7 separate regions of the Homo sapiens genome follow, and all the other regions are linked to region 1. Evidence: promoter capture Hi-C in human tissues and cell types (Jung and others, 2019). All regions are on one chromosome and are shown on one strand. The core of a region is centred on a gene start or on the middle of the fragment in contact, and the rest is flanking DNA. Distances in the headings are between cores, read along the strand shown.

Region 1 (4,202 bases), core at 774-3,273:
TTAAAATGAAAAGGGAACACATGCTGAGAGGAAGTATTGAAACCACCTTTGCAAAATTATAACTAAGGAAATTATGACAGTGAAAGATAACAGACTTAACCAATTCCATCTTGTTTCTAACCTTCAAACGGTCCTTGTCCATTACTGGCCATAGGCCAAACAAGTCTTGGGAAGGAATTTAATTTATAGTTTAAATAATAGCCCTTCCCCAAAACTAGACTGTTCTTGTAAAATGAATGAAAGGCCACCAGCCACCAAGTTAGAATGAGAGGGGCTGGAAGTCTAAATATTATCAGCCATTATTCTGGAGGTCATAAGATAAGATTTGCAACTTCCCCAAGATATCAACACTACTGTGAACCTAGGGTTGGCCTTTTTTTTTTTTTTAAATGGAGTCTCGTTCTGTAGCCCAGGTTAGTGTACAGAGGGACAATCTCGGCTCACTGCAACCTCCACCTCCCAGGTTCAAGCCATTCTCCTGCCTCAGCCTCCCAAGTAGCTGGGATTACAGCCATGTGCCACCACGCCTGGCTAATTTTGTATTTTTAGTAGAGACGGGGTTTTGCATGTTGGCCACGCTGGTCTCCAACTCCTGACCTCAAGTGATCGCCTGCTTTGGCCTTTCAATGTGCTGGGATTCCAGGCCTGAGCCACCGCGTCAGCCTAGGATTTGCCTTTTAAGAAGTCTTTTCCGCCGGGCGCGGTGGCTCACGCCTGGAATCCCAGCACTTTGGGAGACTGAGGTGGGCGGATCACGAGGTCAGGAGATCGAGACCATGCTGGCCAACATGATGAAACCCCGTCTGTACTAAAAATACAAAAATTAGCCGGGCGTGGTGGTGAGCGCCTGTAATTCCAGCTACTCGGGAGGCTGAGGCAGGAAAATCGCTCGAACCCGGGAGGCGGAGGTTGTAGTTAGCCAAGATCGCGCCACTGCACTCCAGCCTGGGCAACAAGGGCGAGATTCCGTCTCAAAAAAAAAAAAAAGTCTTTTCAGGTTTTTGCATTTCTGACAACCGGATGGCCCCACCTGGACCTGCCAACCAGTTGTGTGGCCTCTACCCAGGGACTGACTCAGCATAAGCGGACAGCTTCGACTCCCTGTGATTTCATCCCTAGCTGACCAGTCAGCACTTCTGACTCACTGGCCCCCTACCCACCAAATTATTCTTAAATACTGGGATCCCCGAGTTTTGGGGAGACTGATTTGAGGAATAAAACTCTGGTCTCCCGAACAATCGGCTCTGTGTGAATTATGCTTTCTCTATTGCAATTCCCCTGTCTTGACAATAGACTCTGTCCCGGCAGCTGGCAAGGCGAACCCATGGGGCGGTTACAGTGTCTGCAACGCAGACACAAGCGACAGAGACTTGATCAGAATATACAAGGAACTCTGCAAGTCAGCGATGGTAAGAAGCAGGGCAGCTGGGCCTCCTACGCCTGCCTCGCCGTTCGGTCCCCCGGACACCTCTGGGCTTAGGACTCAGGGGAACAGATTCCCAGAAGCAGGTTCCCCGCCGCGTCCGGCGCCCGGGCTCTGCAGCCGCCCCCTGCTCTGCCTCCTGCACCCGCAGGGCGTCCCCCGCCGCTCCCTCCCCTGCTTCCTGCAGCGGCCCCCGACCCCAGTCCTGGCCCCACCATGGATCCTGCATCGCCGGGTTCGGCCCTGGCGGGTTCAGCCCCGCAGAGTCGGCACCCGGGCCAGGTCCATCTCCTCCAGCCCTCCCGGTGCGTCCCGCGGGGCAGGAAGGAGGCGAGGCCCAGCCGCCCCGTGTCGTGCAGGTGTTTTCCCGGGCCCGTCCGCGGCGGCTGCTGAGGACCTGGGGAGACCCAGCCTGTAGGATCCGCAGCTGCGGTGCGCGGCCGGCAGTGGCGCTCGGGCTTCGTCCCCGGGGGCGGGGCTTCGTCCAGGCGCGCAGGGACCAGCGGGCCTCGCCCTCCCGCGCCGCTTTCCGATTGGCAGCCGCCCGCGGGGCATTGTGGGCCGTCCGCGCGCCCGTCCCGTCGCCGCCGCCGCCGCCGCAGACCCCTCGGTCTTGCTATGTCGAGCTCACCCGTGAAGCGTCAGAGGATGGAGTCCGCGCTGGACCAGCTCAAGCAGTTCACCACCGTGGTGGCCGACACGGGCGACTTCCACGGTGAGGACGGCGCGGAGCCCGGGCGCGGCGCAAGCGCCCTCCAGAGGCCCCGGCGCCCCGATTTCCCCGGGTCTCCCGTTCCGGGACGCGGACCGGGTGGCGGTGCCCCGGGCGGCTCGTTCCGGGAGGAATGAGCGCAGGTGCCGGATGTTGGGGCCAGGGACAGCCGTGAGGGGAGCGGGGCCCGGGTCGGCCGTGAGAGGCGCAGGGCCAGCGGCGACCGTGAGGGGAACGGGGCCCGGGTCGGCCGTGAGGGAGCAGGGCCGGGGGCAGCCGTGAGGAGCTGGGGTCAGCCGTGAGGGGCTCGGTGCTGGGGTCAGCGGTGCGGGCGGTACTGACGGGTCCTTGCGAGCCGTGGGGCACGAAGCCGGAGCCCCAGCCTCGCCCTCCGCCCAGGGTGGGGTCGGCTGCGCCCTCAGACCCCGCACCCGGGACGGGCTGTGGGCAGCCCGCGGGAGCCCCTCTGTGCACCTTCATGGGTCGAGGCAGCTTTCAGAGCCTTTGAGTTCAGGAGAGATTCAGGGTAGAGCTTCGAGCTGACTTCCACGTGGCCAGTTTGTGGTCAGCGAGATGCAATTTTGTTGGGCTGATGTCTGCAGAGCGGGGACATCAGCTAGCTCTGACCAGAAGCTGCCAGTGCTGCCATCGCCCTTGAGCCCTGCGGTGCCCAGTGGGACAACTCCGTGGGCGGCAGGTGCCCGGCCTGCTGGACAGCCACCGCCAGACGCACCGGGTGGGTAAAAGCCGGTGCCCATGAAAGCACAGGGTTGGTACACTGTTAAATACTGGATTTTCCTGGGCTTGAGTTGTTTACATTGGAGAGAACTTGGAAAATACAAAGAAGGATTATTTATTAATACTTAGCTCTTCTGTCCTCTGCAGTGCAGAGTAGACGAGCCTTGTGTCTATGTTTTGTTGAGAACAAGTAATATTTTTTAAGAAAATCATGAAACGCTTCATGGATGAATGCTGCGAGCACCTAATACGGAAGTGACTTCCTCTCTTTTCTGCTTTCTCATGGTGACTTGAGAAACAGGCTTTAATTCCTCTTTGGTAACTGAGTAAGGGCATTGTTTATCTAGCAGAGCCTAGAGAGTGAATTGGCATGTTTGGCTGCTTAACCATAAAATATGGGGATTCAGTGACTGGCTTGGGGTGCCACAGTCTGCTCCGGACCCCTCTTTGGGAGATCCAAAGCTAGAGCTGTGAATCCCTCACACACACAGCCCCCCCGTTGTAGTCCAGACCTCTCTTCATAAGAAAGAAAGCTCCAGAAAAGGGGCTACACATTTTTCTGCTGCTCAGTTTTTTCCCTTCTTAGCACTGAGAATAATTTGCAGTTTGCCTGGTGGACAGAGCGCTCATCTGTATTGTTCCTTACTGGCCCTCACCAGTTAGGGCAGAGCTGGTGCGGAGTGTCAGGTCCATTACACTTGGCAGTGCAGGGCCAATAAAGATGGATTTTCCTAAACCCACACCCACAGGAGGGCTGGGGAGTCCTGGGTTTCTGGTTTTGTTTTGTATTGTTTTTTAAGAAAACTTCTGGCCCAGCGAGGTGGCTCACGCCTGTAATCCCAGCACTTTGGGAGGTTGAGGCAGGTGGATCACGAGGTCAGGAGTTCGAGACCAGCCTGACCAACATGGTGAAACCCCGTCTCTACTAAAAATACAAAAATTAGCTGGGTGCGGTGTTGCATGCTTGTAATCCCAGCTACTTGGGAGGCTGAGGCAGGAGAATTGCTGAACCCAGAAGGCGGAGGTTGCAGTGAGCCAAGATCACACCACTGCACTCCAGCCTGGGCGACAGAGCAAAACTCCGTCTCAAAAAAAAAAAAAAAAAAATCTTCTAAACCCAAGTTGTGACATTTTTTTTTAATGAATATTAACAAAAAAATACATTCATTGATAGTATATGTTCATAAATGTTATATAGTTGTAAAATAGTCTGTTGGGTTTGTGATCTGTAGTTTGTGAAGTGAAGGTTCTTAACTCCTTGTGGGAGGGAGGCACAGGCCTCTGGAAATAGAATCAAAGCTGTGAATGCTCTTCCCACAATGTGATCCT
Region 2 (4,202 bases), core at 491-2,990, 510 kb before region 1:
AGACGGGGTTTCACTGTGTTAGCCAGGATGGTCTCGATCTCCTGACCTCGTGATCCGCCCGTCTCGGCCTTCCAAAGTGCTGGAATTACAGGCGTGAGCCACCGCGCCCGGCCGCAAGGATTTGTTTTAACAGTTTTGCAGAGTATCACAGATATTAGAATGCGCTCCACGTGTTTGTAGGTCCTGGTCCCTGCTCCATCCATAGCACCTAGAACAGAGTCTGGCACAGAATAAGAGCTCAGTCAGGGCTTCTTGGATGAACGACTGACTCTTCGGGATCTTTGTTTTTTTTTGAGACGGAGTTTTTGCTCTTTCGCCCGGGCTGGAGTGCAATGGTGCCATCTCGGCTCACTGCAACCTCTGCCTTCCGGGTTCAAGTGATTCTCCTGCCTCCGCCTCCTGAGTAGCTAGGATTACAGGCGCCCGCCACCACGCCCGGCTAATTTTTGTAATTTCAGTAGAAATGGGGTTTCACCATGTTGGCCCAGCTGGTCTCGAACTCCTGACCTCGTTATCCACCCGTCTCATCCTCCCAAAGTGCTGGGATTACAGGCGTGAGCTACCGCGCCCGGCCAACTCTTCAGGATCTATTAAACTTTTTTCTTTTTTTTTTCCCACAGGTAGATAAGAGTCTTGCTCTGTCACCCAGGCTGGAGTGCAGTGGCTCAATCATAGCTCACTGCAGCCTTGAACTCCTGGACTCAAGGGATCCTCTTGCCTTAGTCTCAGGAGTAACTGGGACAACAGGCTTGCGCCACCATGCCCGGCTAATTTTTAAATTTTTGGTAGAGATGGGGGTCTCGTTATGTTGCCCAGGCTGCTCTTGAACTCCTGGCCTCGAGCGATCCCCGTCTCAGCCTCCGAAAGTGCTGGTATTACAAGTGTGAGCTACCACTTCGAGACTCACTTTTCACCAACATTTTCAGCAGTTGTGTCAGACAGCAAGTCAATGTGCCATTATTTACTTAAATATTCATCCATTATAGGGCATCTGATACCTAACAACCATGGACCTTAAGATTTTTTCCTATGTAGCCTCAGTTCTTAGATGCAATTACTATGGAGACGGGTACGATCACATGCCAGTGGGAGTATTAACCGCACAACATTTATGAGGGATCATTAAAGCGTTAAATGCATATACTTTTGGACCTAGCAATCCCAGTACTAGGAATTTATGCAAACAGTGAGGTGCCAACAAGGTTATTCACCACAGCATGATGCACAATAACTAAAGGTTAGAACGTATTTCAATGAGGGAATGGTGAAATAAACGACAAAACCCCCATAAGTGACGTCCACAGATCAGCATAAAGACGGAGGCCCCGGTGTTGGAACGCACGTAAACTCCCAGACATGCCGCAAAGGAAACACGGCAAGGTGAGAAAGAGTGGGCGAGGTGTCGACAACGAACACGCAAGAAGTGCTTGTCCTTGCCCAAAATACCTCGAAAAGAAGAAACTGGGAGCTGCTGCCCTCGGCTGCCTCCGGAATGCCCTGGGCACCTCGGGTCTGGGAGGCCTCTGCAAGGGGCGCGCCGGGTCCAAGGGCTCACCGCGGGCCCCATGGCTGCCTCTCAGCCCCGCACTCACATCGTCCCTGCCGCCAAGCACCAGCCGACAGCCGCAGGCCTGAAACGGCCCCACGCCTCCCCCGGCCTCGACCCGTTCAACTACCCGGCCCCACAGCCGGAGGGCTGCCGCGGCGCGCCAACCCCAGAACGCCATGTTCCGCGCAGTCCAAGGAGTCCTCCGGACTCGCCCCGCCCCCGGCGCCCCGGCCCCGCCTCCGCCTCCCACCCCCGCCCCCGGCGCCCCAGCCCCGCCTCCGCCTACCGCCCCCGCCCCCGGCGCCCCGGTCCCGCCTCCGCGCCCCGCCCCCGCCTCCTTGCCGACGCCTCCGGCGCGCCCAGGTAGACGTAGAGGCGAGTAGAGGAAGTTCCCTAGTCTGGTGTCTCATCTCTCGCCCCGGAGGTCAAACCTGGAGCCAGCATTTCTGTACCCTGCGCTCACACCTTTTTCAACCCGGATGGCGGTGATAGTTAATACTTTCTGAGCGCTTTTACTATGGTCAGGCATTATATTTACACCTAATCCTCGCAAAACACTACTGGGAAGATCCTCATTTGACAGGAGCAATTCCGGGTCACAAAGGCTGACACCACAAAGCTAGTCCGTAGCGGGTTCGACCACAGGCGCCCACACTCTTTGACGCCTCAATGGCACAGCCAAGTGCGCGGGAAGTGGGCTGCAAACGCCGGAGAGTTTTGTCCGGAGCGCAGAGACGCGCTGTAACCGAGCAACCAGCGGGGCCCGCCCCCGGCCTGCTACGGCGCTCCCAGCCTGCCCCGCGCCGCTCGGCGCCGGAAGTGAGTGAGCATTTCCGGCAGCCATCCCCGCGGTGCTGACATCCCGGTTGTTCTTCTGTGCCGGGGGTCTTCCTGCTGTCATGAAGGACGTACCGGGCTTCCTACAGCAGAGCCAGAACTCCGGGCCCGGGCAGCCCGCTGTGTGGCACCGTCTGGAGGAGCTCTACACGAAGAAGTGAGCGCCGAGCAGACGGGCCCTGGGCCCCGGCGATAGAGGGAGACGGAGGGGGCAGGCGGGCGGAGGAGCGGACCCTTGATGGGCTGAGGGCGCCCAGACCCAAGTTGGGGGGAAACGGGGACGTGTAGCGACCGGCTGTGCCGGCAAGGTTTGCTGAGGAACCTTGAGTGGCAGGGTCGAGGAATAAGAGGGATGACAGACCACGAGGGCCAAGAGCTGTAGCCAGGATGTTTCGGTCTGAGATTCACTGCTTCCTTAACGGGGGACTGAGACTGAGGCTTCTGAACTCCTACCTCGGGTCTTACTAAAACGGTTCAGGAGTAGCCTTTGATTTTAGCTCTTGATTCCATCTAACAAGCAAACACACTTTCAGGGCCACCACCCACTTTGGGAAACATGTTGGTGATTCGTGCTTAGCCTTGTCATAGTGTAACTGTATCTACAGTTATCTTTCTCATGGTCTGGAGTTGATAAACCAGAGGCTAGTACAGCTTTGCTGTTTTCCCTATTCATTCTGCAGCTGGTTGCACGGGGTGCAACCACTTCCGCCGTCCCATTGTCTTTACCTTCCATTGTATTTCTCATGGGCTTTCTGCCCCTAGAAAGATCTTAAAGTTTAGGTTTGTTTAGAAACAGGATGAATTGCAGAGCAATTAAATTCTTGCTAAGCACTAACCTCCTTTTAATATGAGTAGAATAAATTGCTGGCATTGGGCTGGAGCTATTCCATAGAAAATACATCTCCTGTAGTAACCTCCCTGTTAACCCTAGCATTTAATATAATACCTTTCACATAGATGTTCCATACATGTTTTGATGATGTTTAGCATTCAGCAGCCTTCTGCTATTAGCAGTTTTTGAGAGCAAATTAATGTTTGGCAAATAATGGTTTGTGTTGGATAGCACTTGGTAATTTTCAAAGCATTTTATCTGCGTTATTAAATATTAGCCTTTGGGTTTTGGATGAAGCGCTATGTCACTGTCCCTGAGGTTTTAAATATTAGCTTATTTAATCCTTTATTCATCCTTTTCACAGAGGAGGAAACTGAAGCTCATTTTAATTGCCTTCCCTGAGATACTCAGCTAATAGGTAGAAGAGCCAGCATCTCAAGTTAGATATGTATGATTCCAAAGTTCTCGTTTCCAGTGAAACCTCACAATAACCCTTTGAGTTAATCTAGATTAATGTTCTCCATTTCATACCTGGGAAAACTGAGTCTTAGAGAAGTTAAGTGATCTCAAAGTGACATAGCCATTCAATAGCAGAGCCAGGAAAAGAACTCAGGTTTATCACATCTGCTTTAGCATTCTTTCTGCTACACCGTAGAGACTGGTTAGTATGGATTTAGTATCCCTTATCAGAAATGCATTGGGGCGGCCGGGCGCAGTGGCTCATGCCTGTAATCCCTGCTACTCGGGAGGCTGAGGCAGGAGAATCACTTGATCCTGGGAGGCAGAGGTTGCAGTGAGCCGAGATGGCGCCACTGCACTACAGCCTGGGCAACAGAGTCAGACTCTGTCTCAAAAAAGAAAGAAAGAAATGCATTGGGGCAAAAGTTTTTTTGGATTTAGTATTTTTTCAAATTTTGAAATATTTGCGATATATACTTACCCGTTCAGTATCCATAAATCAAAAATCTGAAATCTGAGATGCTC
Region 3 (4,202 bases), core at 452-2,951, 490 kb before region 1:
CTGGCAAATTGTGGCCTCAAGTACTTGTTCGGGGATTGAACAATGGCTACTGTCAGAAACTCCTGTAAGGCATTTTGCTGTTATCCTTCTTATCTAAGCATTAAAAGCTTGTTCTTAACAAGATATATGTCTAATATTAGGAAACTTTTTAGTATGTGGGGTACTAATAAGATCTCTATTTTCAGAGCCAATATTGACAAAACATCCTTATCAGTTCTCTATTTTTATTTGGAAAAATAGTTTAAAATAGTTAATAAAATTTTTTCCAGATGACTTTCACACGACCTGCCAATCACAGACAACTCACTTTTGAAGAAATTGCCAAAAGTGCTAAAATCACAGTGAATGAGGTACGGTCCCTAGGCTCAGGGTGTTAGAGCAGCAAAGCTGCCACATGGAGGAGTCAAGGCTCTTGTGTGAGCGCTGTGCTCCCTAGACAGTAAAAAATGACGGGAGGAGCGGCATCTGCTTCTCACAAGCCATCTGGGTCCATGGGGGTGTGTCAGGCTATCTTGTCTTACACACGCCTCCCTCTCTGCACAGGTGGAGCTTCTGGTGATGAAGGCCCTTTCGGTGGGGCTGGTGAAAGGCAGTATAGACGAGGTGGACAAACGAGTCCACATGACCTGGGTGCAGCCCCGAGTGTTGGATTTGCAACAGGTGATGTGTTTGAAACCCATTATTCACCTCTGTGGATTTTGAGGGGTTGTGTCTATACCGTCTTAGTTTCATTTGGATGGAAGCCATTTGGGAAGACAGCATTATTAGACAAGAGGTTTTGGAGAAGGAAATACTGCTGTTGGGTTTTTCTAAGAGCCTAATTTAATGCAAGCCTAGGGTTTGAACCCTGCATTTAAAAGCTTATGATGACAATGGCACTGGTTGTGCTGACGGTGCCTTTTAATCTTAAGATAGGAGCTCTGATCAGATACGTTCCTGGTTCTGTGATTTGAGCTCACGTCGCTCTTACATTTGCTGGAAATGCGATCCTGTGGATTTCCTCTGTCCTTGTCTGCTTTCTTTCATGCAAGTTTTTTCTAACGTTCCTGTGAAAAGAATTAACCCGGCAAGTCCCGTCCCACTCCCCCAGCTCAGAGGTCCTTTTTACTAGAGCTGCCCTAGAGAGTTAGCTGGAGATGTAGAGTCACCCCATCAGGTGCTGTGCCGGCCGCTCGGCCTGTGTCTCCTGCGTGTCTTAACGTCCCTTGTGTCCGGATTTCCATTTCAGATCAAGGGAATGAAGGACCGCCTGGAGTTCTGGTGCACGGATGTGAAGAGCATGGAGATGCTGGTGGAGCACCAGGCCCATGACATCCTCACCTAGGGCCCCCTGGTTCCCCGTCGTGTCTCCTTTGACTCACCTGAGAGAGGCGTTTGCAGCCAATGAAGCTGGCTGCTCAGACGGTCGACATTGAATTTGGGTGGGGGTTGGGATCCTGTCTGAAGTACAGACTGTTCTTGCTCTAAAAACAGGACTGTCCCTGATGGGAGCCAGGCCACAGGGAGGAGGCTTCTTTGTGGGTCTCTCCTGCAGAGGGTGGGGGTCTCAGGGTCTTAGGTGATACGGGAGAGAAAGAACGTGCCAGGCAGGAGGCCCCCTGAAGTCTGTGTACTCCGAGGTGGATCTCCATCCCCATCCACCTGTACGGACATCTTTTCCGTTGCGGTTTGAGAATGTTCCTATAATAAACCCCTCTGCTTTGTTCTTCTTGTGGCTCTGTTTTCTTGGGCTTAGCTTCCAGGCCAAGCCTGTGCCTGGAGGTTAAAAAGCATGAGTTGGAACCTTGGGAAGACACGGTGGGGGTAGCCTTGGCCCTTCTCCTCCCTGCACATACAGTAGACGGGCAGAATCCAGCACCAAGGACTAACGAAGACGCTGGTCCTATCTTTATTGTTAGTCAAGAGAGACCTAGGGGTATCCACTCCCTTCTCCAGCCCTCTCAGGTACCTGCCCCGACACAGGCATCCATCCACATCCTTGTCACCACTCATCATTCAAATAGCCACCAGCATCTGTGACCTGGTGTGCCCCAGTGCGGACATGAGCCATCCCTGGGACTGGGCATGTAAAGGAAACCACCTTGAGGTTCCCCGTCTGGGAGTGGAGGTGCACGTACACAAAGAATCACAGAGTGAACATTAGGTGGAAGGACAGTTTAATGTGATCTTTCAGTCCTGGGCCTGCAGTGACAGCATGGAGCTCTTGCAGCTCTCCAGGTCGGGTGAGACCCAGCCTCCAGGAACCAGGAAGCTGATGAATGTGAGAGCCCCACGGCCTGCTCCTGTTGGAGGAAAGCACCCACAAGTCTGCTAGGCTGGCAAAGAACAGTTGTCCGGCATCTTCTCCAGCCTTTTCCTCTTTGGTTGCTGGTGTCTGAGCTCCTGGTTTTTTCCACCTCGTCCAGGCCTCGCCTGACCTCATGGCCCCAGACCCCTCTCGGTCTTTCCACCCACCCTCTCCAGACCTCGTTTGGCCCTGGTCCAGATGGCCTGACACCCCAGCTGTTCCTCGTCAGTCACAATTGCTGGGATCTATTGACCACTAGCCTTTATACCCACCTCACTGTCAAGTTCCCAAGGCCCTGTGGTGCACCCTTCAACCTTCCGCAGCCCCTCTCAGCTGCTCAGGCCAAATGTCTTAGTGTGAGCCTCCATTTCCCTCAGACACTCATGTGTACATCGAGCCCGCTGACTCCCCACCCTCCCTAAGTCCAGCCTCAAACCTGTCCTCCATAACCGCTCCTCCACACAGCAGCCCAGACAGTCTTCCAGAACAATCAGGTCTTGTTGCTGCCGCTGCTCAGCATCCTCCAACAGGCTTCACTCACCCCCAAGGCCTGAGTGCTCTGACCACTGCCTGCCTTGCTGGTCCTGCTCCTACCCTCATCTGCTCTCCCTGCACCCCACCAAGGCTCCTGCCTCATCCCAGACATGAGCTGATCACAGCCCAGAGAGACACAATTCTGCATGCTGAAATCCCGAAAAATCAAAATTCTGAAAATATATTTCTGGAAAAAATAATTTTAAAATTATTTAAAAGATATTTATTTACTTTTTTTTCATTTTTTTATTTTTGAGACGGAGTTTCACTCTTGTTGCCCAGGCTGGAGTGCAATGGCACCATCTCCGCTCACTGCAACCTCTACCTCCTGGGTTCAAACAATTCTGCCTCAGCCCTCTGAGTAGCTGGGATTACAGGCGCCTGCCACCACACCTGGCTAATTTTGTATTTTTAGTAGAGATGGGGTTTCTCCATGTTGGTCAGGCTGGTCTCAAACTCCTGACCTCAGGTGATCCGCCCGCCTCAGCCTCCCAAAGTGCTGGGGTTACAGGCATGAGCCACCACGCCTGGCCATCTATTTACATTTTTAAAGGGGATTTATTTGAGAAACATAAAAACATGACATATGACAGAACACATCATAGGCCACTTCACACAATAAAATAGACAATAATAATATCCATGTTTCTGCAAGTGTAAACAGTCATACCAATGACAGTTATGCACAGATGAGCTGTATTCGTAAAGAAATGTGTTGAGAGGGGAAATGCATGAACACCTACCGCTCGGGTGGGAATTGCGTGCGCCCAGGTTCATAACTGCAGTCTTCCGAAAAGCCAGGATGAACAACCTACGCCTTCTAACAGGCTCAATCTAGAACCGCAACAGTTCACCACCACATAGCCAGTCACCAAAAAAACCAAGATCTAGAGAAATTTTTCACAAATGCAGATGTACAAAAAGGACATCTCTTCATTTATTGAGGAAATATCCCATTTTTACCTACACACACAGACAACATTGTGGTAATGCACTTCTGTGGAGTCAGTTTTGCAAAAAATGCCTAAAACAAATTAGAACACTGTATAAGTGTTCTAATTTATATCTTCAGTATTGAAATGATGCAAGGATAAAATGAGAGCATAGTGAACTGTAAAAAAATAATGCTGACAATTTATGATGATGAAAAAAGCTAAAAAAACTATACAGAAAATTCAACTTGAAAAAGCCATATATGTCGAATTTTCTGTGTAAGTCATATTACAGTAGATTATGGGCAACTATGCAGAGATATTCTGTAAGAGCTGGCAAACTTCCACGACCCCATTAACTATATTCTGAAGTCTTGCATCACAATGAATAGCTGTTTTTTTTTTCTTTTAGGACATGGCTTTCCTTGGAGAATACATTCAAATTCATT
Region 4 (4,202 bases), core at 1,505-4,004, 470 kb before region 1:
ATTAATTGTAGATTCAATGTCTTGTTTTTGTTTTTGTTTTGAGTCAGGATCTGGCTCTGTTGCCTGGGTTGGAGTGCAGTGGCATTATCATAGCTCACTGTAGCTTGAACTCCTGAGCTCAAGCAATCCTCCTGCCTCGGCCTCCTAAAGTGCTTGGATTACAGGTGTGAGGGCAGTGGCTGGAGGCCAAAAGTTTGAGAACAGCCTGGGCAATATAGCAAGACTCAGTCTCTATTTTTTAATAAAAATATTAATTTATATAAAAATACAAAATTTTATTTGTCATCTTTACCATTTTAAGTGTATAGCTCAGTGCTAATAAATATATTTACACATATATTATTTTCTCCTTCATCTCCGTTCCCCTACTCTCTTTCCTGGCCTTTTTTATCTTTTAAAAGACAGAAGTCTTATTACCCTGCCAAAGATGGTCTTGAACTCTAGCAATCCTCCCACTTAAGCCTGTCCTGTAGCTAGGACTATGCCCAGTTTGGTTAAACGTATTTTTAATTCCTCTGACTTGTTTTTTGACCCATGTGTTATTTGCAAGTGTATTGTTTATTCCAAATATTGGGGGATTTTCTGATTGGGAAGCTCCTTCCATTCTTCCCAGTTTGCTTAGTGTTTTTAACCATGAAGAGGTGTTGGAAAATGTAGACTATTCTTTCTGTCTCTATTGAGATGATCAAGCAGTTTTTGTCCTCTTAAGTATTACTATGATATGTTACATTAATTGATTTTTGGATGTTAAACCAACCTTGCACTCCTTAGAGAAAACACACTTAGTCATGGTTTGTAATTGTTTTTATATGCTAATAGATTCTGTTTCTGAAGTAGTTTGTTAAGGATTTTTCATGCCTGTATTCATGAAGGATATTGGTTTACAGTTTTCTTCTGATGAGTTTGCCTGGTTTTGGTATCAGTGTCACAGGCCTCAGAGAATGAGTTGGGAAGCATTCCCTTGAGAGCTTTTCTTTGTGGGAAAGTTTTTTTTCCCTGTAATTAGTAATTCAATCTCTTTACTTGTTATAATTTGTCTTAGTCTATTCTCACATTGCTGTAAAGACATACCTGAGACAGGGTAATTTATAAAGAAAAGAGGTTTAACTAGCTCCTGGTTCTGTGGGCTGTACAGACTTTTGCTTCTGGGGAGGCCTCAGGAAACTTACAATCATGGCAGAAAGCAAAGGGGAAGCAGGCAAATATTCATGTGGCCAAAAGGACAGAGAGAGCAAAGTGGGACATGCTACACACTTTCAAACAACCAGATCTCATGAGAACTTACTCACTATTACAAGAACAGCAAGGACGAAATCCACCTTCATGATCCAATCACCTGCCACCAGGTCTCTCCCCCAACATTGGGAATTACAATTCAACATGAGATTTGGGTGGGGACACACAGCCAAACTGTTATCAGAAAGAGGTCTTGATCCAGACATCATGGTTCTTGGATCTCATGCAAGAAAGAATTTGAGTCAAATCCATAAAGAGTAAAGTGCCAGGCATGGTCGCTCACACCAGTAATCCCAGCACTTTGGGAGGTCCAAGGCAGGCAGATCACAAGGTCAAGAGTTCAAGGCCAGCCTGACCAACATGGTGAAACCCCGTCTCTACTAAAAATACAAAAATTAGCCAGGCATGGTGGTGCATGCCTGTAATTCCAGCTACTCAGGAGGCTGAGGCAGGAGAATTGCTTGAACCCAGGAGGCGGAGTTTGAAGTGAGCCGAGATCGTGCCACTGCACTCCGCCTGGCGACAGAACGAGACTCCATGAAAAAAAAAAAAAAAAAAAAAAGAGTAAAGTGAGAGCAAGTTTATTGAGAAAGTAAAGGAATAAAAGAATGGCTATTCTATAGGCAGAGCAGCCCCAAAGGCTGCTGGTTGCCCATTTTTATGGTTATTTCTTGATTATATGCTAAACGAGGAGTGGATTATTCATGAGTTTTCCAGGAAAGTGGTGGGCAATTCTCAGAACTGAGGGTTCCTCCCCTTTTAGACCATATAGGGTAACTTCCTGACTTTGCCATGGCATTTATAAACTGTCATCGTGTTGGTGGGAGTGTCTTTTAGTGTGCTAATGTACTGTAACTAGAGTAATGAGCTGTGAGGATGACCAGAGGTCACTCTCATTGCCATCTTGGTTCTGGTGGTTTTGGGCCAGCTTCTTTACACCATTATCAGCAAGGCCTTTATGACCTGTATCTTGTGTCAACCTCCTGTCTCATCCTGTGACTTAGAATGTCTACCCTCCTGGGAATGCAGCCCAGTAGGTCTCAGCCTTATTTTACCCAGCACCTCTCATTTCCACATATTAACCCCCCCGTTCCACACACTCTCACATTTGGTCCCAGGGGTCTCGAACACCCCTGACGTCCAGCCTCTGCCCGCCAGCTGTTCAGGTCGGGTGGGGAGGCTGCAGTGCAGACCCCTGCCCGGCGTCTCCCTGGAGACTGCCTTCCCTCCCATATATGGTGCGTGCTGCTGGCTGTCCCCCCTGTTCCCTCTACCTGGAAGTCTTTCCTCACCCCTGCCTTCAGAGTCTAACCTCTCCCCAGGCCTCAGCTGAAGGCCTGGCTCTGAGCCAGCCACCTCCTTCACACAACCCACCTTGCTCTGAAGCTGCCTGCTCACAGCCATGCCCCGATGCCACACCCAGGGGTTCTTGGGGAACATTAATGGGATAAAGGAGTAAGAAAATCAAAGGTCACCAAACGGAGCCCTTAAAGGGCAATGCTCTGCGTGTGCCACGGTGCCCAACAGCATCTCGTGCCAGCTGAGCTGCGGTGTGTGGACCCGGGGAATGGACCGGGCTGGACAACCTCTAAGACTTGGCTCCAGCTCAGCCTGTGAAGGAATCACCTCTCTGATCCCCACCTCTGCCCCGGAGTGCTAGACCCAGGGAGGAAGAGACCCCATGGACCAGCCAGAGGCCCCCTGCTCCAGGTGAGTGCTGGCCCCAGGGTGGTCACTGGGAACCGGCTGGTCTCAGCCCTCTGGGGCCTCCACCTCACCCGCTGACTTCCTCAGGCTCTCCACCCTTGTCCACATCCTTCCCCCACCCTCACTCCCAGGCTCAGGAGCCAAGCACTGCCTCCCCACAGAGGGCATTTGTGGAGTCTGTTCCCCACCAGGGGCTCAGATTCAGGCCCTGGTGCAAGGCCCCAAGCTGGGCCCCACCAAAGTGTGGCAGGGGTGGGGGCCCAGGAATACAGCCTGGGCCTGGCAGTGTCTGCTGCCAAAGAGGCCAGTTCTGCTCCGGGATCGGGAAGAGAGGGAAAAGAAGGAAAGCGAGGAAAGAGAGCTCAGGGTTCCTTGGAAATACCTCCCTCGGGGCATGTGACCTGTCCTGGGGTGTGGAAGGACAGAAGCAGAAAGGGAGGTGCAGGGGAGGAAGGTGCCCCCCAGAGCTCAGATCAGCGGCGGCCAGTGCCCACTTCACCCTCAGAGGGCGAAGAACACCAAGACGCCCCGACCCGGGTCCGGGGACGGGGGAGGGAAAAGTCTGGGGTCACTCCCCGTTGCCCCCTCCCGCCACCCCATGGATCCAGACGATGCTTGGCCCGGGACTCCCTGAGGCCCTGCCCGCGGTGGGTTCTCCGGCGCCAGAGTCGGGGGCGGGCGGGGGTCACCCGAGGGCCGCTCCCCGATGACCCGCGCCCGCCCGCCTCCAGCACGGGGCCGCGCCTCGCGGTGGCCCGCGAGCTGCTCCTGGCTGCGCTGGAGGAACTGAGCCAAGAGCAGCTGAAGCGCTTCCGCCACAAGCTGCGCGACGTGGGCCCGGACGGACGCAGCATCCCGTGGGGGCGGCTGGAGCGCGCGGACGCCGTGGACCTCGCGGAGCAGCTGGCCCAGTTCTACGGCCCGGAGCCTGCCCTGGAGGTGGCCCGCAAGACCCTCAAGAGGGCGGACGCGCGCGACGTGGCGGCGCAGCTCCAGGAGCGGCGGCTGCAGCGTGAGTTCTGCGCGGGAGGTCCCTCCTGTCTGGGCAGAGGCTGGGCTGCCCTCCTTCCCGCTTCCCGGAGAAGCCCCGGCGCGGTCCCCGGCCCCCGCGCGTTTTATCCACAAATTCGCGGGCCCCAGGGGTAGGACCCTGCGTGCTCCTCAGGGTGACTCGGACCCCCGTGGCGCCTTCCCCTGTTCCCGCCCTCGGCGGAACCTCACCCCAGTTTCCCTTCCAGGGCTCGGGCTCGGCTCCGGGA
Region 5 (2,548 bases), core at 1-2,500, 440 kb before region 1:
ACCTGTATCCCACGTACTCTATCTTCCATTCCTCGCCCTGCCCCCAGAGGCCAGGAGCTCTGCCCTTGACCTGTATTCCACTTACTCCACCTTCCATTCCTCGCCCTGTCCCCACAGCCGAGTCCTGCATCAGCCCTTTATCCTCACACGCTTTTCTACAATGGCATTCAATAAAGTGTATATGTTTCTGGTGCTGCTGTGACTTCACCTGGGGAGCGGTCCTGCTGGTTCTGAGATTAAATGTAATGCCAAACGTTCTTGCCTTAGCCACACCAAAGAATTGGGTGTGGCGGCTGCCCGCGGCGAGTGATGGAGACACAGACCAAGAGAAGAAAAAAACTGTAGGTTTTATTGAGCAGAGTGACAGTACAAAGCTTACACAGCATGGAAGGGGTCCGGAGAGGGTAGCCACTGTTGGTTTTGGGTGATTGCCTTTTAATCTCTTTAAGGCGGGAAATACATGTGGTGGGAAGATGTTACCAGAGAGAGAAACAAAGGCAGTAAATTATTTTGTGACATGTCTTAGATTTTGAGGAAAAACAGAATTGCAACTTAGGTTTTATCTAATTTTATCTACTTTATGACCTTGCAGCAGCATGGCAAAAGAGACAGGATTTTACAGGACTTTACAAAGTATGTTCACAAGGAATTGGAATTGGGAGCATAGATAAGGTCCGCTGGTCACAGAAAAAGGGTCTTTTAACATTCCTTTTAGTTTTAGGGGAGGGGGAAGGAAGAGAGGGAGAGAGGACACAGGGAAGCTTACAGCAGAATTTTTGCTGTTTATAGCTTTCTTGGGGAAGGAAACACATGCACAAATCCTGGTGTTAGGAATATTTTAGGCATGTATCTTCAGTACTCTTCATCCAGGACCGAAGTAAGTCCTGATGCAGGAAATGAGTGTTTCACAGCTTTCTGAACCCCTACTCGACCCAGGAAGCCCAGCTGGACCCTCCTTTCATGAGCAGGTTGGTCAGCCCCTGCACTGCCCCTTCCAGCCTCTGTGCATCTCTTGGGGACGGGGCAAGTGCTCAGGCCTTCTGGTTTCGGGCCTCCTGCCGTGAGCAGCAGCTGGATCCAGGACCCTGGGAGGAGTTCCTGTGTCCTGCAGGTCTCAGCTCCTACTCAACGTGGGCTCTTTCCGGGAACGTCAGTGCTGAGTCCGGGACACCCTGGGCCCAAGGCCACGCTCGCGGCCTGTCGGCAATCCAGGCTGTCGGCTCAGGACAGAGGGAAGGGTTAAGCCCCCAGCAGGGCCAGGGAGGGGCAAGGTGGCACCGGCTCCCCAGCTGCTCCCAGGCCCTGCTCTGTGGTGCTGGGGACCTGGCTTTAGTTCCTCGGGGGTGGAGGGGGCACCGCGCTGCCTGCCTCCGAGCTGTCTGGAGCAGCCAGTCCTGCAGATGTGGGCAGCTCAGGGCCCGTGGGAGGGAGGGGGCTTTGTGCCCAGGGCAGCAGCTGAAGGAGCCCCGGGCCTCGCAGCCCCTCCTGGGTGACCAGGTGCTGCTTCGTGGCAGCTGCCCCCTCCCGTCCAGCGGGTATGGGCCCTGCTCCCCCGTGGTGGGGGCGGCGCAGGAGAGTGGAGCGACCCTCATCTAAGTTACCTCTACCCGGGTCTGAGCCCCCGGACAGACACCCCCGCCCCGACCTGGTTACAGCGCCCTTCCCCGGTTCGGTCTCCGGTGTGCGCATGTGGGGTGCCCCATGGGCGGCCGCGGTGGGAGCTGGGGTGGCCATGCGCGCCCCCGCCCCGCCGTCCACCCGCGACTCCAGGTCTGGATCTACTCGCCCTCCCCACCCTTTCCCGCCCCCAGCCCCGGAGCCGCGCTCTCACCCCAGGGGCGGCAAGGGCGATGGACGCGGAGGAAGCGCCCTCTCCCCCTCGGGGGTCTCCCGGAGGCGAGTCCCGAAGGGGGCGAACTCCGAAGTGGGTCCCGGGTGGGAGGCGCGCGGCCCCGCCCGGCGGGGAGGGGGAAGCGGCGGAGGCGGGTGCTCAGCGGCGCCCCTGGCGGCGGCCGGCGCAGGTGCAGGTCCCGGAGGAGGCTCCGCCCGCAGCCCAGACCCCCGCGGGGTGGGCGGGACGCGGACCCTGAGACCCGCAGCGCCGGACCCGGACGGGAGCCCCTCTCCTCCCCCTCGGGCACGTCCCCGGCCGAGCCTTCCCGCCCTCCTCTGGGGCTCCCACCTCCCCTTCACCCGCGGGGGACCCGATTTCCGCGTCTCCTGGGCCCCTCCCTGGGCAGGGGGTCCAGCCGGAATCCAGGAGTGACCTGCTGGAGGACTTGGTGGCCAGGGAGTCACCCTGGGAGCCCGGTCCTGTGACCCCTTAATGGATTCTCTGCGCTCCTGGGCGGGCCCCTTGGTCGCATCGGGGCAGGGGAATCGCAATAAGGAAAGTGTAATTCACGCAGAGCCGGCTGCGGGGGAGACGGGAGTTTTATTATTACTCAAATCCTTCTCCCCAAAAACGTGGGGATCCGAGTTTCGAAGGATGATATGGTGGGTAGGCGGCCAGTGAGTCAGGAGCGCTGACCGGTCCGGTTGGAGATGA
Region 6 (4,202 bases), core at 469-2,968, 410 kb before region 1:
AAAGTAGCCCTTGGGCCCCCCATGTCTCTATAGGCAAGAAAGGAGCTGAGGAAGCCACTCAACTCTCCAGCACCCACCCTGTGCGGCCACGGAGGACCGTGGGGATGGGAAGTGTCCCCTCCACCAAGCACAGCCCTCATCTCTTCCCGGAAGTTGCTCCCCGGCGTCAGCGTCCTCACCCAGCCACCCCTGGGACTTTGGAGTTGCTGCAGAGCATGACTGCTGGGATCTGCCTTCTTCCCTTCCAAACCGTCGAAGCCCCTGTCCCTGCTCCTTGGTTGAATACTGGGGGCGTGGGCAGAAAACTCTTCATCTTTTTAATTCAGGGCCCTCCAGCTTGGGAGGAGACACAGCTAGGCTGGATGCGGCAACTTGTGTACTTTTGACCTTCATGTAGCTGGAGGACACCGGGTTGCCCTTGAGGAAGCAGGTGTATTTTGCCTGCAGGAAGGGCAGTCTTCTGAGTACCTCGCAGGTGTCTGGATGTGGTGCGCATTAGTGCTGTTCATCAGACACCTTCAGCTGTCCTCTGGGCAGATGGCAGGGTTGTGTCTTCCTGTGGAGTTCCTTCCTTTCGCCTCAGTGACCACGGAGACGCATGTCGAGGTGTGACCTCGCCTGGGCCTCTGCATGAGGGTGGGGAGCAGAGTCCTCCTTAGTGGGAGTGGAGCGTGCACAGGACGTAATTACGTGGGGCCATTTGTTACGCAGCCTAACACAGCCTGTCCTGGCTGATGCAGATGGCCATTGCAGCAGTCATCTGCAGGTCCTCAGCTTAGTCTCACCCTCACTGGAGATCTTAGCCTTGGCCTCACAGGTGCTCCAGACCTTTTCCTGGCAGAATTTTGGTGACTTCAGAAATATGATGACTGCTGAACCCACTTCTCCCAGCATTTCTATTTGTGGTTGCCTGGTGTATTTAAAGTCTGTGTTGATGGGTGCATATATTTTTAACGTTTCCCTATTGTGAAATTTAATAAATTTACAGCAAAATGTATAAAATACGAAAGTAAAAAACTATCACCCTAGTCAAAAAATGGTGCATTACCCATCCCCGAGAAGATGCCTGCCTGTCCCTGCCCAGTCACGACTTTCACTCGCGTCCGTCCATGTGAAGAGACCACCAAACAGGCTTTGTGTCAGCAATAAAGCTTTTTAATCACCTGGGCGCAGGCGGGCTGAGTCCAAAAACAGAGCCAGCGAAGGGAGATAGGGGTGGGGCCGTTTTATAGGATTTGGGTGGGTAAAGGAAAATTACAGTCAAAGGGGGTTGTTCTCTGGCGGGCAGGGGTGGGGGTCACAAGGTGCTCAGTGGGGGAGCTTTTCCAGCCAGCATGAGCCAAGAGAAGGAATTTCACAAGATAATGTCATCAGTTAAGGCAGGAACAGGCCATTTTCACTTCTTTTGTGATTCTTCACTTGCTTCAGGCCATCTGGGCGTATATACGTGCAGGTCACAGGGGATACGGTGGCTTAGCTTGGGCTCAGAGGCCTGACAACCACCCCTCCCATCCCAAAGACCACCACTCCGGACTTCTGTGGTGAACACATTCTTGCTTTTTGTCAGGATTTCAACACCCACGTGTGGGTTAAACCAAACCTAATCGAGTGTTGGCTAAACCCAAACACGATGAGTTAGAGCTTCCAACATCTAAGTTCTTGGACGTCTGCTGATTAGGGTTTTCTATGGAGGCCTCATTATGTAGGGACGATTGCTTAAATCATTCCCCTAAGGACTGACTCAATCCAGTCCCTCTCCCCTCCCCACAGGCTGAGGGTGGGGCCGGCAGTTCCAGCCCTCAAATCGCCTGGCAACCAGAGCCCCTTTCCAAAGGCCTCTCACAGCGTAAACGCAGGTGTGGTTGAGAGGAGCTCTATCTTTACTCCTCATCGCCTCGGAATCACAAGGATGTTAGGGGCTCTGCAGAACCGGGAACGAAGGCCAAGCCGGTTTTTCTTACTGTATCACCGTATCCATTTCCCATTCCTTGAAAAAATCTTCAAGTTTACCTTTTGTTTCCAAAAGCATAGCGCGCACCGCTGCTTTATTGTCTGGGAATTCCAGCACCCGGAGTTTTTGCTGCCTGTGGCTCCGCTTGTCCCTCGCCCTCACTGTCTTCTCTCTCCACGGTGCCTGTTTATGCTTCATTGTTGGACACGGAGCGACTTCCAGGCCTGGGGTGTTATCTCCATCAGGGGAGGATTGCCTGCTGATTCCGTCAGGCACCGGGAATCACCCAAGTTCAGTTTCAGAGAACTTTTCCATATTTCTGGGTCTTTTCTTAAAATGTATCTCTTATTAAATCTGTCTTTTAATTCATATTTATTATAATAATTCTTCTACAAGGACATTTCTGCCATAGTTTTTATATTTTCTATTTGCCCTACTTTTGGGGTTTTTTTCTTTTGGTGATTATCATGAGAGATTTTTTCTTTTATAACTTTTCTTTTTTTTTTTGAGATGGAGTCTCGCTCTGTGGCCCAGGCGGGAGTGCAGTGGCGCGATTTTGGCTCACTGCAACCTCCGCCTCCCGGGTTCACGCCATTCTCCTGCCTCAGCCTCCTGAGTAGCTGGGACTACAGGCGCCCGCCACCACGCCCGGCTAATTTTCGGTATTTTCAGTAGTCAGGGTTTCACCGTGTCAGCCAGGATGGTCTCGATCTCCTGACCTCGTGATCCGCCCGCCTCGGCCTCCCAAAGTGCTGGGATTACAGGCGTGAGACACCGCGCTCGGCATAACTTTTCTAAAAATTTATATTTATTCATTCATTCAACAAATACACACACACACACATATACACATTTTTTTCTTAAGATGGAGTTTTGCTGTTGCCTAGGCTGGTCTCAAACTCCTGGCCTCAGGCTCTCCTCCCGCCATGCCTGGCACCACAAAACTTGTTGAGTCCCTCCTTTTTGTTGTTAGGGCTCCAAATGTGATCTTCAAATACGGCCCTTTGGCATGTTGAGTACTTGGCTATGGAGGCACTAAGGGCCCCTCAGAAGCAAAAGCCTCTCTGACCTTCTCCTTCCCTCCTATTTCCTGCCCCATTTTCTCCCCAGTGTGAATCACAGAAACCAGAATTCCTTTTCCCCACAGAAAATAGAACTCCTCTCCCCCAAAGCAGGCCGAAAACCTGGAAGGTCACTCTGTCCCTTTCCCTTGGAGGCCTTCCTTCCAAGAGGTCCTGCCCCCATGCGTGGGAGGGAGGAAGGGGCTTTGCAGGGGAGGCTGAGAAGGCTCCCCCCTCAGCCTTCCCGCTGGCTTGTTCCCGTTTCTGCACAGCTGCACATTCTTCATCTAATCTGAGCATAAAGAGCTTCCCTGGGTCTCTGGGTCTTCTGTGTCACACACAACTTGGACGCAATAAATGTGCTCTGCTTTCCTCTTGTTAGCTGTGTGTTGTTGAAGAGTGTCGCTGTGACCCTGTGACGGGTGAAGAAAGGTCTCACAGCCTTTCTGCTCCCACAGTGCCAAGACTTGTTGCACGTGATGAAACAAACCAAAACACCCTAAAATACTGCGGGTTGTTGAGAGGACGAAAGTTAAAACACAGGGCGATGCTCTGTCCCTCTCTCTGCTTGCCTGATGGCAGGACAGCAAGTTACAAAGACTAAGGGCTTCCTGGCCTCCTCTCTGCCTTTCGCACCTGAAGACACTTGTATATCAGCTCAGAGACAGAGAGATTCCAGGAGGAGATGTTGCTCTTCCCGTAAAGGTTCCTCCCCACATTTTCCTGCCTTTGTCTTGTTCCCATAGGATTTATGGCTCATGTTAAAATACTATTTAAGTAAGGCTCCTAAGCCATTGCAGAGAGAGAGAAATACTTTTAACCTGAGGCCTCTCCCGTGAGACAGGTACAGCAGGCATCAATAAACTGCTGTTGACTTTTCTCATGTTAATCTCACTTTTATTTTCAGGAGACTGTCTCAACTAAGAACCTAGGAGGGAAAGAACAACGTTGTATCTTCTCCCCTACAGTGGTGGGCACACGGTGTGGCCTAGTGCGCTCTTGTGATGGGGGGTCTTAAGACCCACACTGTTCATTCGCCCCATTCACTTCCTGGACTTAGCATACCTGGAGCTCCTGGTACCACGCACCCTTTGGCAAACCTTCCCATATCCCTTTGATCTCTCACTCCCTTCCTGATGGCATTACCCAGATCTTCAGGCTTTGTACAACCATATTTTCCTTCATCTTTG
Region 7 (4,202 bases), core at 493-2,992, 380 kb before region 1:
GGAGAAACAGAATGAGACACATAAAAGAGCACCACTGGCCGGGCACAGTGGCTCACGCCTGGAATCCCAGCACTTTGGGAGGCCAAGGCGGGAGGATCACTTGAGCCCAGGAGTTCAACGCCAGCCCGGGACACATGGTGAGACCCTGAATCTGTTAAAAAAAAAAATACAAAAAATTAGTCCGGCATGGTGATGCATGCCTGTAGTCCCAGCTCCTCAAGAACCTGAAGTGGGAGGATCGCTTGAGCCCAGGAGGTCAAGGCTGCTGTGAGCTGAGATTGCACCACTGCACTCTAGCCTCAGAGACACAGTGAGACCCTGTCTCAAAAAGGGGTGGGGCACTATATTTTAATGAATATGCAGATAACAGAAATATGAAAAGTGGACTGCAGGAGGCAGGAGATGAGGAGCTGATGGGGTGGGGGAAGGTTTGAGAGACCGGGTGTTGTTTAAGGGCCGGTATGAACAGCAGGATGTAACCAGCTTGCTTCTGTGCTCAGAAGTTAGGGGAGGAGGATGGAGGGGAAGGAGGGAAGGAGTTGAGGTCTTAAGAAGGCAACTTCTGGGCAATCTTCCATTGTGAGGTGGGGTCCACGTCCCCACAACCCACGAACTTGGGTGGCCGTGCGGCATGTGGCAAACCTGAGGGGTGACTCCAAGATGCTTCACTCTGTGTGCTGGACCGGGAGGCTGCCCCTGGCAGCTGAGCCTGCAGGCGCTCTGGCCAACCACCCGGGGTGAGCCCAGCCATTCCTGCCGAGGGTGCACTGGCTTGGGGCAGAAGTCTCTGGATGGCTCCAGCCTGTCCCGCGGAGCCGGCCCCACCACTCACGTCTTCCCACCGGAGGCCAGCACCTCGAGGAGCAGAGAGGAGCTGTCCCCGAGTGCCCTGAGTTCCTGACCCACAGGACACAGGAACACAGGAACGCTGCTGTTGGACAGCACTGAAGCTGGGCGGTTTGCTACACACCCAGAGACAGCTGAGCAGACAGAGGGAGAAGAGTAGGGTCACGCTGGCAGCTGGACAAGGGAAGTACTGGGGGGACAGAGGGACTGGCAGGGGTTGGTGCAGACCAGGTGAGAAAGGGCACGAAGTGGGACAAGGTCCCGGTGAGAGGCACGACACTGTCACCTGCCTCAGGCCGCGCTCGGTGGGGCGGGGGCCACCAGCTGAGGCCCCTCCTGCCGCCCAGACAGCTCGGCCCCCTGCGGCCCCAGCCCTGCAGGCTGAGATCCCGCAACGACTCCCACCCCTGGGCTGAAGCCGGTGCTTGGGCCCCCCCGCCCCCCGGCCTCTCTCGCCCGCCCCCATTCCCCGCCCCCCAGGACCCCGGGTCCCTCCCCTCCCTCCTCCGTGTTGTCCGCCTGCAGTCCTTCGGGTCACTGTTCTCGGGAGGCCGCCCCGCCCCACAGTCAGGCTGTGCCCATCCCCCGCCGCCCCCCACGGTCCCCGAGCCCCAGCGCTTCCCAGCCCCGCGTCTGTGTGCCGCGCCCCCGCGCTCCGTGGCCCAGGTGGACGCGCGCCCCGCGCCCCGCATCCCTGTCCGTCCCGCACCCCTCACCCCCCGCCCCGCACCCTCCGCACCCCCCGCCCCGCCCCGCCTCCCCTCGCCCCGCCTCCTCCGCCCCGCACCCCGCGCCCCGCCCCGCCTTCCCGCGCCCCGCACCCCTCCCCGCGCGCCGCCATTGGCTCCCCGCGGCCTGGCTCGGTCCGATTGGTTCCGCGCGCGCGGCCGGGGCCCGATCCGCGGTGGCAGCCGTGGATGCTGTTCGGTCCCGCCGCCGCCCCAGGAGCGCGGAGCCGGGAGCGGCCGGGCGGGGGGCACCGCGAGGAGCCGCCCCCGCCGCCCACCCCGGGCCCGCGGCCGAGGGCGGCCTGGGGGGGTCGCGGCCGCACCCGGTGGCCGCGCACGGCGGACAAAGGACCATGCGGGGCCGCGGGCGCTGAGCGCGGCGGGGCGGGCCGGGGATGCGGCGCGGGGCGGGCGGGGGCCGGGGGCTGCAGCGGCGCCGCTGAGCGCGGCCTGGGGCGGGCGCGGCGGCCGCGATGCCGCGGCTCCCGGTGAAGAAGATCCGTAAGCAGATGAAGCTGCTGCTGCTGCTGCTGCTGCTGAGCTGCGCCGCGTGGCTCACCTACGTGCACCTGGGCCTGGTGCGCCAGGGACGCGCGCTGCGCCAGCGCCTGGGCTACGGGCGAGGTACGGCGCGGGGGGCGCGGGGGGCGCGGGGGGCGGGGGCGGCGCGGGGGGCGCGGGGGGCGCGGGCGGCGCGGGGGGCGCGGGCGGCGCGGGCGGCGGGGGCCCCGGGGCGCGGGCCGGGCCTCCCACCGCACAGAGGTCTCGGCTGGGCCCGACCCTCCCGGAGACCCCGCCCGCTGTTCTCCGCTCTGCGATTTGGGGGGAGGGGGCGCGGTTCGGCTCGGCCCGGACGCTCGATGACGTCGGCAGTGACGCGCGCGACCCTCCCAGAGAGGGTCCCTGACTCTGGGATCTGGCTTGGATCCGGTAGTGAGGGGCTGACGGTGGGCTCCTGGGGAAGTCTCTGCCCCTAGACCCTGCTGAGGCTTCCAAGAGGCCTTCTCAGGCCTCGCCTCCACCCCCTGCCCGCTTAGCAGGGCCTCAGTTTCCCTGTGTGCTGGGGACCCGGGCCGGGGCTTGCTGAAGTGGCCGGTGCAGCTGGGACGCTTCCCGGCGGGGGCGCCTTCGGTGAACTGTGCCAGTGTTGTGGGGGTCCATGCGTAGGGATGGGGCCCAGCTTGGGGAGCCTGGCGTAAACTCTCCCAACCCCAACCCACAAACAAAGCAGATGGGGTCACGGTGAGCCAGCCGGGGTAGGGCCTCCTGGAGATGGTGATCTTTGACATACACCTTTGGGGGAAAGAGCATTCCAGACAGGAAGGCGCAGATGAAAGCCTGGCGGTGGGGTTGGGGGAGAAGGTGGGGCAGAATGCCCCCTCTGGAGGAGGGAGGTTAGTGCCATGCCCAGACCAGGAGAGACCCCAGCTGGCTGCCTCTGAGCCTTTTCCAGGGAGCCAGGTGTCCTGAGGGGGCAGAACAATGATACTGGCTGGGGACTCCTGGGCCACTCCACCTGCCAAAGCCCCTGTGTTCTCTTCCTGTACCGGGACGCCTGGACCCACACAGGCCAAGGGTCTGGGGCTTGTCCCAACCCACATACCTCACAGCTTCCACACCCTCAAGAGACCCCCGATACTGCTGAATCCCTAAAAAGCCCCACCCCAGCTATCAGCAGACAGGGCAGGATCCACAGCTGGCCCAGTGACACAGAACAAAACCAGCCCCCTCTGCAGGCTCCTCTGTGGTTTTCTGAGCAGCGCAGGGGTCTAAGCCCAACCAGGAGGGGGCGGAGGCATAGGGACCCCTCTTCCAAGGACCCCTTGAGGCTAAGCCAGCTCCGCCCCAGGGCACCTGTACACTTGCTACCTCTGAGGCTAGGGCCAGGACCAGAGGAGCCCAACAGCTGCCCAGGGAGAGGGCGAGTGAGCAGACTGTTCTGTCGGGGGACCTGGGGCCCAAGTCAGGGGAGCCCTGGGGGACCCTTCCCAGATCTGCCTGTGGACATCTCTACTGCCTCCCCACAAGCCTGGGCAGGCCAGCTCTGCACCCCAGCCCTCTCCACTTCCTGGACCTCCCTAAGCTGAGGACCTAGACATCCCCACTGCAGCCCCAGGGGGTTCCACGCCCTGGGATCTGAGCATCTGTAGGGATGCTTCTCTTCACCCCAATTCTGCCCCTCCTGGTCCTCCTACCCAAGGACACTCAATCCAGGGCCACCCTCTGCTCCAGGGCCATGCCTGGGCGTCAGCATCCATGCCTGTTCCTCAGTCCAGACTTTGAGAGCTCAAATCCTTCAGGAGAGACTACAGTCCCTGGCACTAACCCTGAGTTCTCAGTTCTGGTAAGGGAGGCAGACGTGGAACACTCCAGCACACAGAGAAAGTGCTGAGGGCACAGGGCAGTCCTGGGGTCTTCCTGGAGGCAGAGCCACTCAACAAGAATGGCCAGATGGAGGTGCATGTGGGTGCCTACACACGCCAGCTGGCCCACCCGGCTTTCCTCCCTCACACCTGCTGGAGGTTGGGAAGAGCCTGCTGGAAGGCTCAGCCTGGGCTGCCCCACCAGAGGTGGGGTGTAGAAGAAGTTGCCTTGCTGGGGGGAGGGGCATCTGGTGGCAGAGGAAGC

The links. The method cuts DNA at HindIII sites, captures the fragments that hold promoters and counts their contacts. A contact is called where the count stands out against the background at its distance.
Region 2: a contact is called between the fragment with the promoter of SIRT3 here and the fragment with the promoter of TALDO1 in region 1, in 2 of the 25 tissues and cell types used here (lymphoblastoid cells and spleen).
Region 3: a fragment that was not itself captured here is called in contact with the fragment with the promoter of TALDO1 in region 1 in 2 of the 25 tissues and cell types used here (adrenal gland and spleen).
Region 4: a contact is called between the fragment with the promoter of NLRP6 here and the fragment with the promoter of TALDO1 in region 1, in 1 of the 25 tissues and cell types used here (lymphoblastoid cells).
Region 5: a fragment that was not itself captured here is called in contact with the fragment with the promoter of TALDO1 in region 1 in 1 of the 25 tissues and cell types used here (heart left ventricle).
Region 6: a contact is called between a fragment that was not itself captured here and the fragment with the promoter of TALDO1 in region 1, in 1 of the 25 tissues and cell types used here (adrenal gland).
Region 7: a contact is called between the fragment with the promoter of B4GALNT4 here and the fragment with the promoter of TALDO1 in region 1, in 3 of the 25 tissues and cell types used here (lymphoblastoid cells, pancreas and spleen).

The regions. Positions count from the first base shown.
Region 1 is chr11:745,441-749,642 of GRCh38, forward strand. It overlaps TALDO1 (transaldolase 1), which reads left to right and starts at 2,024. Exons shown (of 8, transcript NM_006755.2): 1 at 2,024-2,138. The coding sequence starts at 2,042. LOC105376509 (a long non-coding RNA gene) reads left to right here. Exons shown (of 3, transcript XR_930962.3): 3 at 1,309-1,522. RefSeq lists enhancers at 1,008-1,656, 1,295-1,354, 1,657-2,305 and silencers at 1,485-2,084, 2,145-2,434, 2,535-2,624. The HindIII fragment of the contact is 22,782 bases long and covers 1-4,202 here.
Region 2 is chr11:234,602-238,803 of GRCh38, forward strand. It overlaps SIRT3 (sirtuin 3), which reads right to left and starts at 1,741. Exons shown (of 7, transcript NM_012239.6): 1 at 1,447-1,741. The coding sequence starts at 1,727. PSMD13 (proteasome 26S subunit, non-ATPase 13) reads left to right here and starts at 2,375. Exons shown (of 13, transcript NM_002817.4): 1 at 2,375-2,543. The coding sequence starts at 2,449. RefSeq lists a silencer at 1,807-1,886 and enhancers at 2,037-2,226, 2,387-2,626. The HindIII fragment of the contact is 7,029 bases long and covers 1-3,473 here.
Region 3 is chr11:251,277-255,478 of GRCh38, forward strand. PSMD13 (proteasome 26S subunit, non-ATPase 13) reads left to right here. Exons shown (of 13, transcript NM_002817.4): 11 at 270-350; 12 at 544-660; 13 at 1,229-1,708. The coding sequence ends at 1,324. It also overlaps the pseudogene COX8BP. Among named protein-coding and RNA genes, the nearest start is that of PSMD13, 16 kb to the left of the region's middle. The HindIII fragment of the contact is 4,358 bases long and covers 1-3,880 here.
Region 4 is chr11:275,653-279,854 of GRCh38, forward strand. NLRP6 (NLR family pyrin domain containing 6) reads left to right here and starts at 2,755. Exons shown (of 8, transcript NM_001276700.2): 1 at 2,755-2,946; 2 at 3,675-3,955; 3 at 4,182-4,202. The coding sequence starts at 2,918. RefSeq lists an enhancer at 4,055-4,202. The HindIII fragment of the contact is 18,362 bases long and covers 1-4,202 here.
Region 5 is chr11:309,204-311,751 of GRCh38, forward strand. IFITM2 (interferon induced transmembrane protein 2) reads left to right here. Exons shown (of 2, transcript NM_006435.3): 2 at 1-192. Among named protein-coding and RNA genes, the nearest start is that of IFITM2, 2.7 kb to the left of the region's middle. RefSeq lists an enhancer at 2,347-2,548. The HindIII fragment of the contact is 1,366 bases long and covers 568-1,933 here.
Region 6 is chr11:332,670-336,871 of GRCh38, forward strand. IFITM3-AS1 (IFITM3 antisense RNA 1) reads left to right here. Exons shown (of 5, transcript XR_007062540.1): 5 at 34-1,020. Among named protein-coding and RNA genes, the nearest start is that of IFITM3, 14 kb to the left of the region's middle. RefSeq lists enhancers at 660-1,213, 1,214-1,767. The HindIII fragment of the contact is 4,084 bases long and covers 1-3,760 here.
Region 7 is chr11:367,757-371,958 of GRCh38, forward strand. B4GALNT4 (beta-1,4-N-acetyl-galactosaminyltransferase 4) reads left to right here and starts at 1,743. Exons shown (of 20, transcript NM_178537.5): 1 at 1,743-2,198. The coding sequence starts at 2,048. RefSeq lists an enhancer at 276-814. The HindIII fragment of the contact is 30,748 bases long and covers 1-4,202 here.